Regions from separate parts of the Homo sapiens genome. Here regions 1 and 2 are each linked to region 3. The links are contacts of gene promoters, found by promoter capture Hi-C in blood cells and fetal thymus (Javierre and others, 2016). All regions are on one chromosome and are shown on one strand. Each heading gives the region's core, a stretch centred on a gene start or on the middle of the fragment in contact. The rest is flanking DNA. Distances are from core to core; before and after follow the strand shown.

The links. The method cuts DNA at HindIII sites, captures the fragments that hold promoters and counts their contacts. A CHiCAGO score of 5 or more calls a contact.
Region 1: a fragment that was not itself captured here is called in contact with the fragment with the promoter of TAF3 in region 3 in 4 of 17 cell types (M0 macrophages, total CD8 T cells, endothelial precursors and 1 more); the score reaches 11.4 in M0 macrophages.
Region 2: a fragment that was not itself captured here is called in contact with the fragment with the promoter of TAF3 in region 3 in 2 of 17 cell types (fetal thymus and M1 macrophages); the score reaches 7.3 in fetal thymus.

Annotation. Positions count from the first base shown.
Region 1 is chr10:9,207,809-9,212,025 of GRCh38, reverse strand. The region is part of intron 4 of LOC101928272 (a long non-coding RNA gene); the gene reads left to right. Among named protein-coding and RNA genes, the nearest start is that of LINC00709, 66 kb to the left of the region's middle. The HindIII fragment of the contact is 152 bases long and covers 2,835-2,986 here.
Region 2 is chr10:9,297,929-9,302,339 of GRCh38, reverse strand. No RefSeq gene overlaps it. Among named protein-coding and RNA genes, the nearest start is that of LINC00709, 25 kb to the right of the region's middle. The HindIII fragment of the contact is 2,003 bases long and covers 1,956-3,958 here.
Region 3 is chr10:7,816,919-7,820,877 of GRCh38, reverse strand. It overlaps TAF3 (TATA-box binding protein associated factor 3), which reads right to left and starts at 2,373. Exons shown (of 7, transcript NM_031923.4): 1 at 2,003-2,373. The coding sequence starts at 2,168. LOC105376392 (a long non-coding RNA gene) reads left to right here and starts at 2,515. Exons shown (of 3, transcript XR_001747356.1): 1 at 2,515-2,626. RefSeq lists enhancers at 1,661-2,178, 2,307-2,366, 2,179-2,697. The HindIII fragment of the contact is 11,971 bases long and covers 1-3,959 here.

The DNA of each region.
Region 1 (4,217 bases), core at 1,661-4,160, 1.4 Mb before region 3:
AGCTTTTCTACCAGTAATTAAAAAGCCTAATGTCTTTGGAGTATTATTAAGTTGACTGATTTTTGTACAGGACTCCACATTATCTTCATTTAATAACTTTCCAAGAAGTATTTGCAGAGGGAATAACAGTAGTCCATATTTAAGTGTGCAGTAGCCCCCCCTTTATCCACGGGGGCTACGTTTCATGGACCCCAGTGGATGCCCAAAACAACGTTGAACCCTATATATACCACGTTTTTTCTATACATACATACTTACGATAAAGTTTAATTTATTAATTAGGCACAGCAAGAGATTAACAACAATATCTAATAATAAAATAGAACAAATATAACAATATACTTTAATAAAAATTAGGTGAATAAAAGTTCTCTCTCTCAAAATACCTTGTTATACTATATTCACCCTTCTTTCTGTGATCTGTCAATCTGATAACCTAGAGGACTACCAAGTGACCAGGAGCGTACTAGACTATCTCCTAGATGCAGATTTTCAGGATACCAAGCCTTACAACAGTTTTCAATGGGAAGGGTATGAAAATGGCTTATTTCCACGGTTAAAATTTAAGGCAACTGCACTGCAAAATTCCAACCTATAGTTGTCAGCACTGAGTATATGACAATAATTCCTAGCAAGGGACAACTGAGATCCAGTGCCATGCTCTCTCTTAACAAGTCTTCCCATTCTTTCTTACTTTGTATTGTCACTTTGGGTCTTTTGCATGTCCAATGACAAAGCCATCACAAAACTCTCAAAAACTGATCCTATAATGACAGCAGTGTTTCACTTTATAAACTCAAGTACTCCAAACAGTAATTGAGATCAGAACAGAAATATGAACGGTACGTGTGCATTTTAAAATAATATTAGTAACAAAATGATTAATTTATTAAATGAACTAACCATATTGCCACACAAAGACAGCCCAGTATGCAGGCTCAAGGCCTGAAGAGTGGAATATAAACACATGTACTCCAAACAAGAAGAAAGTGGGCACTGGATAGCACTTCTAAGAATACTTAATTGTGTGCATATTTTTTTGTTGTTGTAATTTGGATGAATTCCAACTTTTCTGAAAGAAAACATTTGCTTACATATTAAGAAAATATATAGCAGAAAAACAGAAAGGTAACAAATACCAATTTTTTTCTTTTTAAAGAAAATATTTAAATTATTTTAATGGGTGAATATACATGAAAATGATCCATTCAGTTCACTCTGCTTAATAAAAGTTATTTCAAATAAAAAAGTCATTGTAAGTCAGGGTGTTACTATTTACATATCTTATCCATATTGTCTTTATATGTTTCTTCTTTATGTTGAAGCTTGTTAGCAGTTTATGGTTTGTTAAAAATGGCTGATGCCACTAAGCTCAAAGTAAATGAACATTTATGTGCCAAAGGCCCCCTATAGACTGGTTAGTACGTATGCCAAGGAAACAAATCTCAGATAACTGGATTTTCATTTTAGCTTTGTGGATTACCTTGAATGCGTTATATATTTGTATTAACATAAGAAAATATAAATAATGTCTTTCACGTAACAAAATAATTCTATGTCTTAGGTGAAATAACTCCACTCATATTTTCCCCTGCCAAATAAAAAGTGCTGAGCACAATCTTTCATGTAAGATCTCATTTCTCCTTTTAAACTTCTCCTATGAATGAAAACCAAATGGCAACGCAGCATTGAAAACCAATGCCTACAAAAAGTACACAGAGTTTGTAACATTAAAAAAAAGCAGGAGCTAATGACACATAACAGGTAAATAAAGGGGGAGGGGACCCCTGAACTTATACCAGGCGTCCAGGATAACCCTCTTGAAGTCTATTAGAAACATGCATTCATCAGTACAGCTCTTTGAAGGGCTTGGAAGATGTGAGGTTTGAAGGAAAAACAAAATGCTATTTTTTTTAAAAAATAAAAAGTGCTGAAAAGGTAGGGCTGCTTGAATTGTTAACCAATTCAAACCTAAATGTTCTGGGTGAGACCTCCATTGCAATTTACCCAGAAGGTGGGAGAAATGTTTCTGATATATGTGGAATAAATACAGAAATCAGCAACATAATAGAAAAACAATGTGCCCTTCAACATCAAACTGACAACAGGAAAAATCTCTCCATGTTCTTCTTTCTTAGTTCATGCGTTTATTAAACACACACATGTGAACTGCACCAGGTACTCTAAGTTGGAGAGCTTAGGTTGGTATAATCACAACCTTGGTGTGAGTCCATATCAATACATCTTTGAGTTAATAGTAATGCTATTAAAATAAATGGGCCGAACCATTGCGATTTTTAATCACTAGAAATTCCCTGATCTTATAAAGAGTTGCTCATTTGGAGTCCATTTTAAGTACTTTAAATCTTCGTTCAAAAATATTAGTAAATTTTTATTTTGCCTACACATTTGTTCATTCTACACACGCTACATCCAAACCTAGAGGGGAAATAGTAAAACTAACTTAAAATGAAAGATACTTTAACAACTACTTCTGCTTGCTTATTACATACATTGAATTGTTAAGATAGAAGAGAAAATAAACAAAGTCATTGTATTTTATTTTCTATGTAGGACACGGTGTCCAAGCAAAACAAACGGGGTTTGGTTGAACATGCAATACCGGATGTCGCCACTGGATGGCAATGCCAGCTTTTGTCTCTAAAATGTGCATGGTACCTTTGATGAGATTTAGCGCCACAACCCTTGGGTCCTAAGTTTCTCAGGACCATCAAAGTGTAAATACGCTGGGGTGAGTCTCCAGCACACATCTCGCATTCCTTTGGGATCTGTCGTCTTCTGGTGCACCCGATGCTAAGGCAGCCCATAAAGCTTCCTTATTTGCTATTACTCTTTGGGAACCTGATGTTCAATAGAATGCCAAGTTCATAAGAAGAAAAAAGGTTACAAAGAAAGTGAATAGGAGGTGAGATGGAAGTACAAATAGGGCACCAGATTCCTTTCCGCTGCTGAATGATGTTAAGCTTGCACAGGACCAACATCTCAAAAATATACTTGTTATGAATTCACTTTCTACCATATAGCAAGAATAGCCTTCACTCTTTTCAGCATTTTATAGTCTAAATCACTTGTTCTCACAAGCTATACACACACACATTCTGACATGTATACACACTTCAAATAAATGTTTGTAGTTGAGACAATTAGCTGATGACAGTTTAGTTTTCCACAGTGAATTGGTTTTAAACTTACAGTAAGGAAAAAACCTTTGAAAACATTATTTTAGGTATACTAAAGAAGCTAAAGGTTTTTACAACGAATTTTGTGTGGTGTTAAAATATATAAATATCTAAATTTGTATTAATTCAAAGATTAATGATAATTATGAAGGTGTTAGATATTATCTGGAACAATGAATCACTTCTGTTCAGAGAAGGAAGGATTTAATGCCAAATAACTTTGCTTAGTTATATGGATGGGAAACATGAGTGGGGTAAAATGATCACATTTTTAAGGTAAAATAAAGAGGGAGAAAATTTGTGTAAATATATGAAATAAAAAAAATTGATAAATTTAATTATCCTTAGTTCAGGAAACACATTTATCTATAACTCCTTATTACTATTTTAACATATAAAAACTTTGGCAAGCAGCATGTCATGCTTTTCTAGTAAACAAAACTTAATAATTAACTTTTACAATTAGCTGACATCTATGGAAGTTACAGTTTGCACTAGGCCTCTTATATATCTTTCATTTGCTTGTGAAAATGATGTTCACACCCCTCTGATGGAAGATGAAATGGTTAAGAATACCACAGAATAGCAAAACAAAACTTGAAACAACAACAAAACTAGAATGAAAATTTGAAGCATATTATAGTATGTTTAAGTTTAGCTAGCACGGGAAAAAATGTTTTTAAATACCAAATTTCAAATTAAGTTTTCTTATTCTTCACAACACAAAACACTAGCTGAATAAACATATATTATTCAATGAGTAGTAGGCATATAAAAGGAAAATTTTCTCTCTGTTAATATAAGCCACTTTTAATTTTGCATGCACAGATTTTGTCACTAGATCAAGAGATATTTTTGCATATACCTTACATGGATATATTTGGATTTGTAAAAACAAACTAGGCAAGATAAAGCCAGGTTTTGAATATTTATTTTTTGTTTACTTCCCACAAGAAGTCCATACCTTATGGGACAACAAACCAGTCAAGTATATTTGGGGTTTCCTGATTAAGAACC
Region 2 (4,411 bases), core at 1,708-4,207, 1.5 Mb before region 3:
TTTATGTTTAATCAACTTGCTTCCTCTTCCCCCAGGGCTTTATGACAAGCATGTGCTATGTAGAGTTAAGCACACAGAGATCCAAAACCTTTGAGATCATTTCTGTGTTAAGTGAAAGTCAATGTATAATGAGCAGATTTCAAAAGTAAATATGTGTATGTCATGATAGTCCTTAAAAAATGCTTTTAACATTATCCACTCATTTTAACATAAAAAAGTTTCTAATACATAATTTTATAAAAGAATCATAAGAATCCTCTAAAACAAAGAAGAATATTTAAGGGTTAAATAATTTTTTTGTCACAAAAATACTATCTTGGAGGGAAATTAGAGTGTTTGGTATGTCTTGTGATTGGTTTGAAAGGACAAGACAAAAAGTTTTGGTTAAATGCGAGTGTACCTTTCTGCAAGACCTGGTATCATCTGGGGTATAGAAATGGCATCAGGCATTTCTATTTATTTATATAAGATGGAGGGTGCTGCAGTCTTGGCCCTTGTTGCAGAACTTTATGCAACACCTGTGCCCGTGTTTACAGGGCCCTTCTCATCATTTAAGCCTCATTAACCACACCAGAACTAAATTGCACCATTTCTTCTGGTTTAGGAACTTGAATGACAGTGGTGAAACGTCACTGGAATTATGCATGTCACTGAGTACCACAAAATGAAAGCTGTGAACACTGAGTTTAGTCACTGATATAATAAAGTATTTCATTGTGTGACAATTTTATCCCTGAAGCATTTCCTTGACATAGCGTTTGAGAACACTGTCAAAAAAAGGATCTTACAATTGCCTTAGATAAACTCAAATCACAATTATCAATATCATCTGACTGCTAGAATAACGCCTTAACACATTAATCTCTATGATTTCTAACTACTGTGATCAGATTCTGTAAAGTATTTTCTAATACTACGTGGAGAATTGGCAACACAAGCATGGCAATCAAGGGAAAATCTATGTTCTCCAATAAAAATGTAGTATTTTGGGAGGCCACTGGATGTCAGACTTCACTCTAAAACTGTTGAATTGGTTCAGTCACATTTATCATTCAATATTTCCCTGAATTTGGAGTTCCTGAAGGTAAGGCATTTTCATATTCTTATTATCTTTTCTATGCCTATTAGTTTCAACTGAGCCTAATTATATTTTTCAATGAATATATAAATTTAAAAAGAACACAGATTTTGTTTTTTAGTTTGATATGCCCTCATAGTTTCTCACTTTCTTTGAGATGATTCTTCTATTAATGTTAAGATTTTGGGCATGGTGGCTCACATCTGTAATTTCGGCTCACACAGTGGCTCACATCTCCCCAGCACTATAGGAGGCCAAGGTGGGAGGATCACTTGAGGCCAGGAGTTCGAGGCTGCAATGAGTTATGAATGCACCTCTGCACTCCAGCCTGAGCAACAGAGTGAGGCCCTGTCTCTAAATTTTATGTGTATATATAATTTCCGCATTAGAGAGAAGGAGTAAAATTAACAAATAACCTCTTCACATTCTGTACAAGTGAAATTTGTTGTTTGGCTTACTGCTGATCTCAACAATAGCGTCACCATAAAGATGAATGAATTTCTCCATTGTTTCAAGCCCTCTCTGCTGTTCACACTCTTTTGGCCTCACAGATTATGTCCGGTAGTTTCTCTTGGCTGAATGCTAGGAAATATGGCAGAAGCGATGAACTAGGTAGGTACAAGAGAACCTAGGTTCAAATACATGCCCTTCCACTTCTTAGCTGAGTAACTTGCGGAATATTGCATATTGTCTCTTGACCTCAATCTTAAATGTTATAAAATTAAAATAATATAGATTCATCTCAGAAGTTTCATTAAGACGGTGTTTTATTATCTCTACTTGATAGCCGGCATGACAGAGTTGGGTTAAATTTCTAGGAACAATCATTTCAGTCTTCCCAACAATTTCAGACTCCCAAATCCAGCCTGGAGAAGCTTTACCCACTGAACCACTGAAAGTGGCTTTTACCAACAGGATGTTTTTGCTCCTCAATAGGGGACAAAGATGGAACTGCATGAGAAGCTGGAAGGAATTCATTTGCTGGACCTAACTCACTCAACCAGATGGAAAGTTGGGCATTAGCACAGTGCCCTGGAGCATGTGTTGGGCATGCAGTTTGTTGCCTCATTGGCCCCAAGTCTTCCTCCTACATGCTTCTGCACATACTGGCTTCATTGTTTCATTGTTCTACCCCACGGGCAATCAGAACATCTTTAGTCAATGTGCTTCCAGGCTAACAGAAGGCAGCAATGTTTTGTATCTGGCTTTTACCAAGCGTCCATCTTTAGTACTGAGTAGGACTTGCATGGAGGCAGTGGATGCATGCTTGTGTTTATCTCAGCCTTTAGCATCAGTCTGGATACAGGTAATATCAGTGGAAAATAGTGGCATCTCTTGCTCACATACACTCAAAGAACTTGGACAGCAACAAACACCGACTTCTGCATTTCTTTAAGTTCCCAAAACTCTTTGGCATAGTTTTCACGTGATTTTTCAGATTTTTTTTGTTTGTTTTTTTGTTTTTGAGACAGAGTTTCACTCTTGTCTCCCAGGCTGGAGTGCAATGGCACGATATCGGCTCACTGCAACCTCCGCCTCCTGGGCTCAAGCGATTATCCTGCCTCAGCCTCCTGAGTAGCTGGGATTACAGGCACCTGCCACCATGCCCGGCTAGTTTTTGTATTTTTAGTAGAGACAGGGTTTCACCTGTCTCTAATAAAGTCATGAACTCCTGACCTTAGGTGATCCGCCCTCCTCGGCCTCCCAAAGTGCTGGGATTACAGGCGTGAGCCGCCGCGCCCAGCCTGATCTTTCAGATCTTGTCATCATCTTATTATCTGAACTTGCTTCAGACATTAGATCAAAATGAATCTTGTGCTACTGCATGGATGACGTGGACAGACGGAACTTTTAGGAAATCATCAGCTGACCAAATCTCACCAATTGATTGTGGGTAAAAGTACGCACAGAGGGACATTTTCTATGTTACCAGATTTTCTTGGCTTGAAGCAGTGAAGGCTCCTCTGTACAGTAAACCTGACTTCTCTTTAGTACTATAGCTTCTCTGGTCCTTCTGATCTCTGCTTACCTAATAGATCTCATTCACCTCTACATCTCTGCTCTACTACTGCTTACTCAGGTGTGTCCAGTAGGTAGGCCACTGATGAATTTGCAGGGTACAAAAAGAGCTTAATGGATGGCTTAAAATATGGCTGTAACTCAAATCATCATGAAAAGGGATGGAGATGTATTTTGTAAACACTGCTGTGCATCAATAATAGTCAATCCAAAAGATATACCGCAAAAAATCTACTTAAGAGACCATGAGTGAGCACGTTATTTGTGAGGAATAATTAACCCTGCGTAGAATCTAAATATAACTTTGCAATATGAGAATATCATAACTTCTTTAGTATATTGCAGCCAAATATTGAGTTGAAGAAATATATTTTAATTGTTAAAGATCACTGTCAGGGACAGTATTTTCTGTCTTACTTGTATCGAATTGTGTTAACATGTAATTTATGGCCAGCCTGGGTTTAATGCAGTAATTTGGATTCACAGTACTAATTTTCATTCATCACAATTCACTTCTTCATTTGTTGGGCTAATGATCCACAAACTAAAAAAAATAATAATAATAATAGAAGAAGAAAAAAAATGTGTGAGGCTGCAGTATCAGGTATCAGAGAAAGAATCGTTTTCCCCCATTATGACTGTTCAAGGCAATGTTTACTCATCTGCTTGGAGGATTGGTCTCTAGGAACCCCTTGTTTTATTCTTTTCTATGTCTGTTTACAAGTGACAGATTCTACCTATGGTATTTTTTATTTGTTTGATGAATGAAATAAAAACCATTGAATTAATTTGCTTGGATAAAGGAGCCCAGGGGTATAATAGGCAAATGTTTCATGTTATTCAGAACTCAAAACAAAAGCTTTATTTTCAGAAATATTTGAGTCTTTATAAAAAGAAAGAATAGAATTACATATAGACACATACACATAAATATATATGTATCTGATTTGCTCAATAGATACATTTAAATTCAGACATAAATAATTATCTAGAAATTATCTGGTATGTATTATTGCTTAAATACAAATCAAATTTCCTTTAAAATAATAACATTACACCTTGGGTTTGTGATAAGTGATCGTCAACCTACTTGCTTACCTCTAGTCCCCAACTCGGGGTAGTTTTTATAATGTCACACAGAGATCATCAATCAAGTTTTTGCTTTTAATTTCCCATGATTATTATTAGTATTATTTTTGGTTGATAGGAGATTTTACTCATCTAAGGATTGCAGGAGCCAGTCCTTTAACAGTTAGAGATGAAATGAGAATCAATTTTGGCCAATAAACAGTGAACGGTGACTCAAGGCATCAG
Region 3 (3,959 bases), core at 1,124-3,623:
GAAGAGTAGTCAGCTGGTGATGTACTTTCAAGATAAAAATGCACGCATATTACTTTGTGGTTCCACATTCAGATGTATCAGTGAGCTGGGCATGGTGGCTCATGCCTGTAATCCCAGCACTTTGAAATGCTGAGGCAGGAGGATCACTTGAGCCCAGGAGTTTGACACAAGCCTGAGCAATATAACCAGACCACATCTCTACAAAAAATAAAAAGATTAGCCAGGCATGGTGGCGTATCCCTGTAGTCCCAGCTACTTGGAAGGCTGAGGCGGGAGGATCACTTGAGCCCTGAAGTTCGAGGCTATAGAGAGCTAAGATCGCACCACTGCACTCCACGCTCGGCGACAGAGTGAGACCCTGTCTCAAAAGAAGAAGAGTAATAGAAGTATCAGTGAAATCAAGCATTCAAAACATATACATTTTTGGAACTCAATATGTAAAGTCAATAAGTGGCTTTTAGGGTAGTGGTTTATCAGTTCATTCATTTATTCAACAAATATTTCTCAGGTGCCTATTATATAATGGCCCTACAGGTTACAGAATACAAATATAATCAATTTTTCTCCTGGAGAGGGGAAAGAGACATACACAGGTGATTACAAAACAAGATGACAAATAATATAAAAGAAATATGCACAGAATTATGAAAGCAGATAACATGAGTTCCCTAGAGCAAGTGATAAGTGCATCTGAAAATAAAAGTAATACTATTGGTGGGCCACGGGCAAAGGACACTCTAGGTAAGAAACAGCACGCATGTAGGAATGGACAGCTTAAAACATTTTGGAAAAGGCAGGTAGCTCAGCGTGGTCGCAGATTAGCATGGCAGGCTGGCAAAAGGTAAGCAAAATGCTAGCTCACAAAGGGAACTGTGTACTGCTAAGAGTTTCGATTTTTAGCCTGTAACCAACGAAGTATAGTTAAAATGTTTTTAAGAATAATGACAGGATCAGATCTGTGCTATGGACAGATTATTTTGGCAGCCCTGTGGAAGCGGGAACGAAACTTGGGGCCTAAGAAATACAGCGTGTGTCTGTGAGTCTCAATTTTCCAGTATAGGAACCACTTTAACAAAACAAAATATCCTATGAAACACTTCATTCAGTTCTCCAGCTCACCACCTTAAACATCATGACTTGAAACTAAAATGAGTGGTAGTTTCCTCTCCTCAACAAACACACATACAATGCTTCACATCAACAAGATAATGTGGAGCTTCTATTAAAATATTCCATTCCTTCCATTAAATTATTAAATACCACTAGCTATAGATATTACCAGACATTCATTTAAAACTCATAAGTACTGTAGCCCAGATTACCTGGAGAATCTTGTCAACTGCCCACGGTCCCTCTATCCTACTTCGATAGCCACTGACATCTCACTGGTAACCGAGACGTAAGTGAAAGTACATCTAATCAGCGAAACTGACAAAGTCAGCCTTGGAAAAACAGTAAATGGAGATGTCGTTCACGAAACGAACAGATACAGAAAGACGAGGCAGTGTCCCTAACGGAGCAGAGCTGTCAACGAGTCTATGTAGTTAGGAGCCCAGGAATGGCCAGTCTTGTAAGAAACGGCCGGTAGACGGAGCGCCTGTGACAACTAGTTGTAGTAGTTTGCGGGCAAGGGAGAAAAAGGACCGAGGTAAAAGAGGGTGTAGGGCACGCTGGGGGTGGATCTACCCGCAGCAAACAGGAGACAATGAGAGAGATCCAGACACAATTCAGAGCGGAGGAGCGGTAGGAGGGTGTGGAGCTGGGAGCGAAGACCCGACTCCCGGGCTGGTGGCGGGAAGTTAGCGGATAAGGAAGAGGCACCCGAAGGATGACTAGAGTTTGGAGCGGCAGTGGAAGCCCAGGGACGTGGGAGGCCGAGGAAACAGCAGATCTCGAGGCGGGGTGCGGGATGCACACCCCGGGGACGCGGAGGGACAGGGAGAGCGAAGGTGTCACCCTTGACTTGCCGGGGCAGCCCTCCCGCACCCAGCCCGGTACTCACAGAGCTCAGAGTACCGATGGCAGCCCCGGCCCAGCTGCTGCAGATAGCGCTGCAGCACGTCCGTGAGGAGGTGGCAGGCGCTGAGCTGCACCGAGTCCCAGCCCAGCGCCTGGCAGATCTGCGCCACCGAGACCCTCAACAACGACCTGGAGTAACTCTCGCACATCCCGCTGCGTGGACGCCACCGCAGCCCTTGCTGCCACTGCTCTCCAGCCCCGCCGCCAGACCTTAGCAGGGTCCCCGATTCATCCTCTAGGGCTTCCGCGGCGGGGAAAGGGTCCCCCGGACCCCCGGCGACCACCTCAAAGCCCCAGCAGCACGGAGCGCGCCAGCCTGAGAGCCGCCATTTTGGACTCGCTCCGCCTCCCGCTGGACGGCCGCCGGGGCGAGGCAGCATAAGCCGAATGCCGAGCGCGGCGATGAGAAAGCTCCGCCCCTTGGGAGCGGAACGATTCCTCGGGATCGCCTCTGAGGCCTGGAAGCCGGCCGGAAGCGGGCGTGGGGCGCGCAGGTGGAGGAGGCGCCCAGGGCGGCAGGTGCTGGGGCGCTCACCTGGGGGACAGCGGTGACGAAAACGCCAGTGTTTTAGAGGCAAACGAGGGATCTGGGATACGACATTGACAGGTTAGAGAGTTAGCACTAATAACGTTAGTCATATTAGAGAGTTATGTGCTAGAGAGAAGTTTGGGGCGTGGGAACTTACGGAGCTCGCCAAACGCAGACCTGCGCTGGTGTTGCCTCAGCTAAAAATCTGTGTATTGAGCTGCTTGCCACTGCAAAGATTAAATAAAGTCCAAGCTGTTCCGCATGCCCTTCAAAGCCCTTCGCAATAGGGCAGGAACTAGGAGGACTCTGTGCCAAATTAATGGGGGCCTCAAAAAACTCAGTCATCAAGATCGATAATATTTTAACAGTTTTTTTAAAAAAATCCAAATCCATGCCATAAACTCCTGACTCACTCATGTCATTCTAATCCCAGCCCTGGTTCCAATAAAACTTTTTTTTTTTTTTTTTTTTTAAAAAAAACAGGTAAGCTGCCTGTGGGCTATAGTGTGCGATTTGAGCATCGCGGCTGTGACCTATCGGGGGATGGGGACCTCGGCTGCCTACAGAGGCCAAACCGAGCCTTAAACCGGTGTCGCAGGCCGAGTGTCCTGGGAACGGTTGCCTACCCCAGAGCCTTCTCCCAGCTCCATCCAAGTATTGCCAGAAATCGGATTTAGGGATAAATATCTTGATTTTTAAATACAGAATTGGGAACACATCTCAAAAGCCAAACTGATCCCACGGTTAGTCTAGATTCAGCCTGCAGGTCGCCCGATTGTAGTGGCTGAACTATGCGGTTTCTTAAATATGCCCTTCTGTACTTATCACAGTGTATTTAGTTTATGTGCTCCTCCAATAAATTGCGAGTTTATGAGTGGCTCTATATTCCTCCGACAGGGACTATTCCAGAACTTTGAACATGATATTCACATTTTTCAAAGTCTGGGAAACTCAATAATAGAACTGAAATTATGGTTCTTCAGCTAAATGACGATCTGCAGAGAAGCAAGGTACTAAAGGGCAAGGTGCCTGCATTTACTCCCTGGACACTCTGTCCCCAAGTTATCAGGAACATTGTGTTGCTAAATCTATGAGACATTTTTCAGTCCTAGCCGTACTTGATTATTTTGTAGCTATTTGATAATGTTGAACGCTTCTGTAACATTGAAACTCTCTTGCGCCTTGGATTTCACAAATCTGTCCCGCTACCGCCGCCACCCTGGGTGTTTGTTCCTCTTCATTTGCCTTTCTGTGTATAGGGGAGGGGATTTTATTTCGGAAAATTTCAAACCTACAGAAAAGTTGAAACAAAATCATAGACTCACGTGTACACTTCAACTAGATTCACCAATTGTTAACATTTTGCCAATTTACTATATATTTTGTATTTATATATGCACGCAGGTATTTT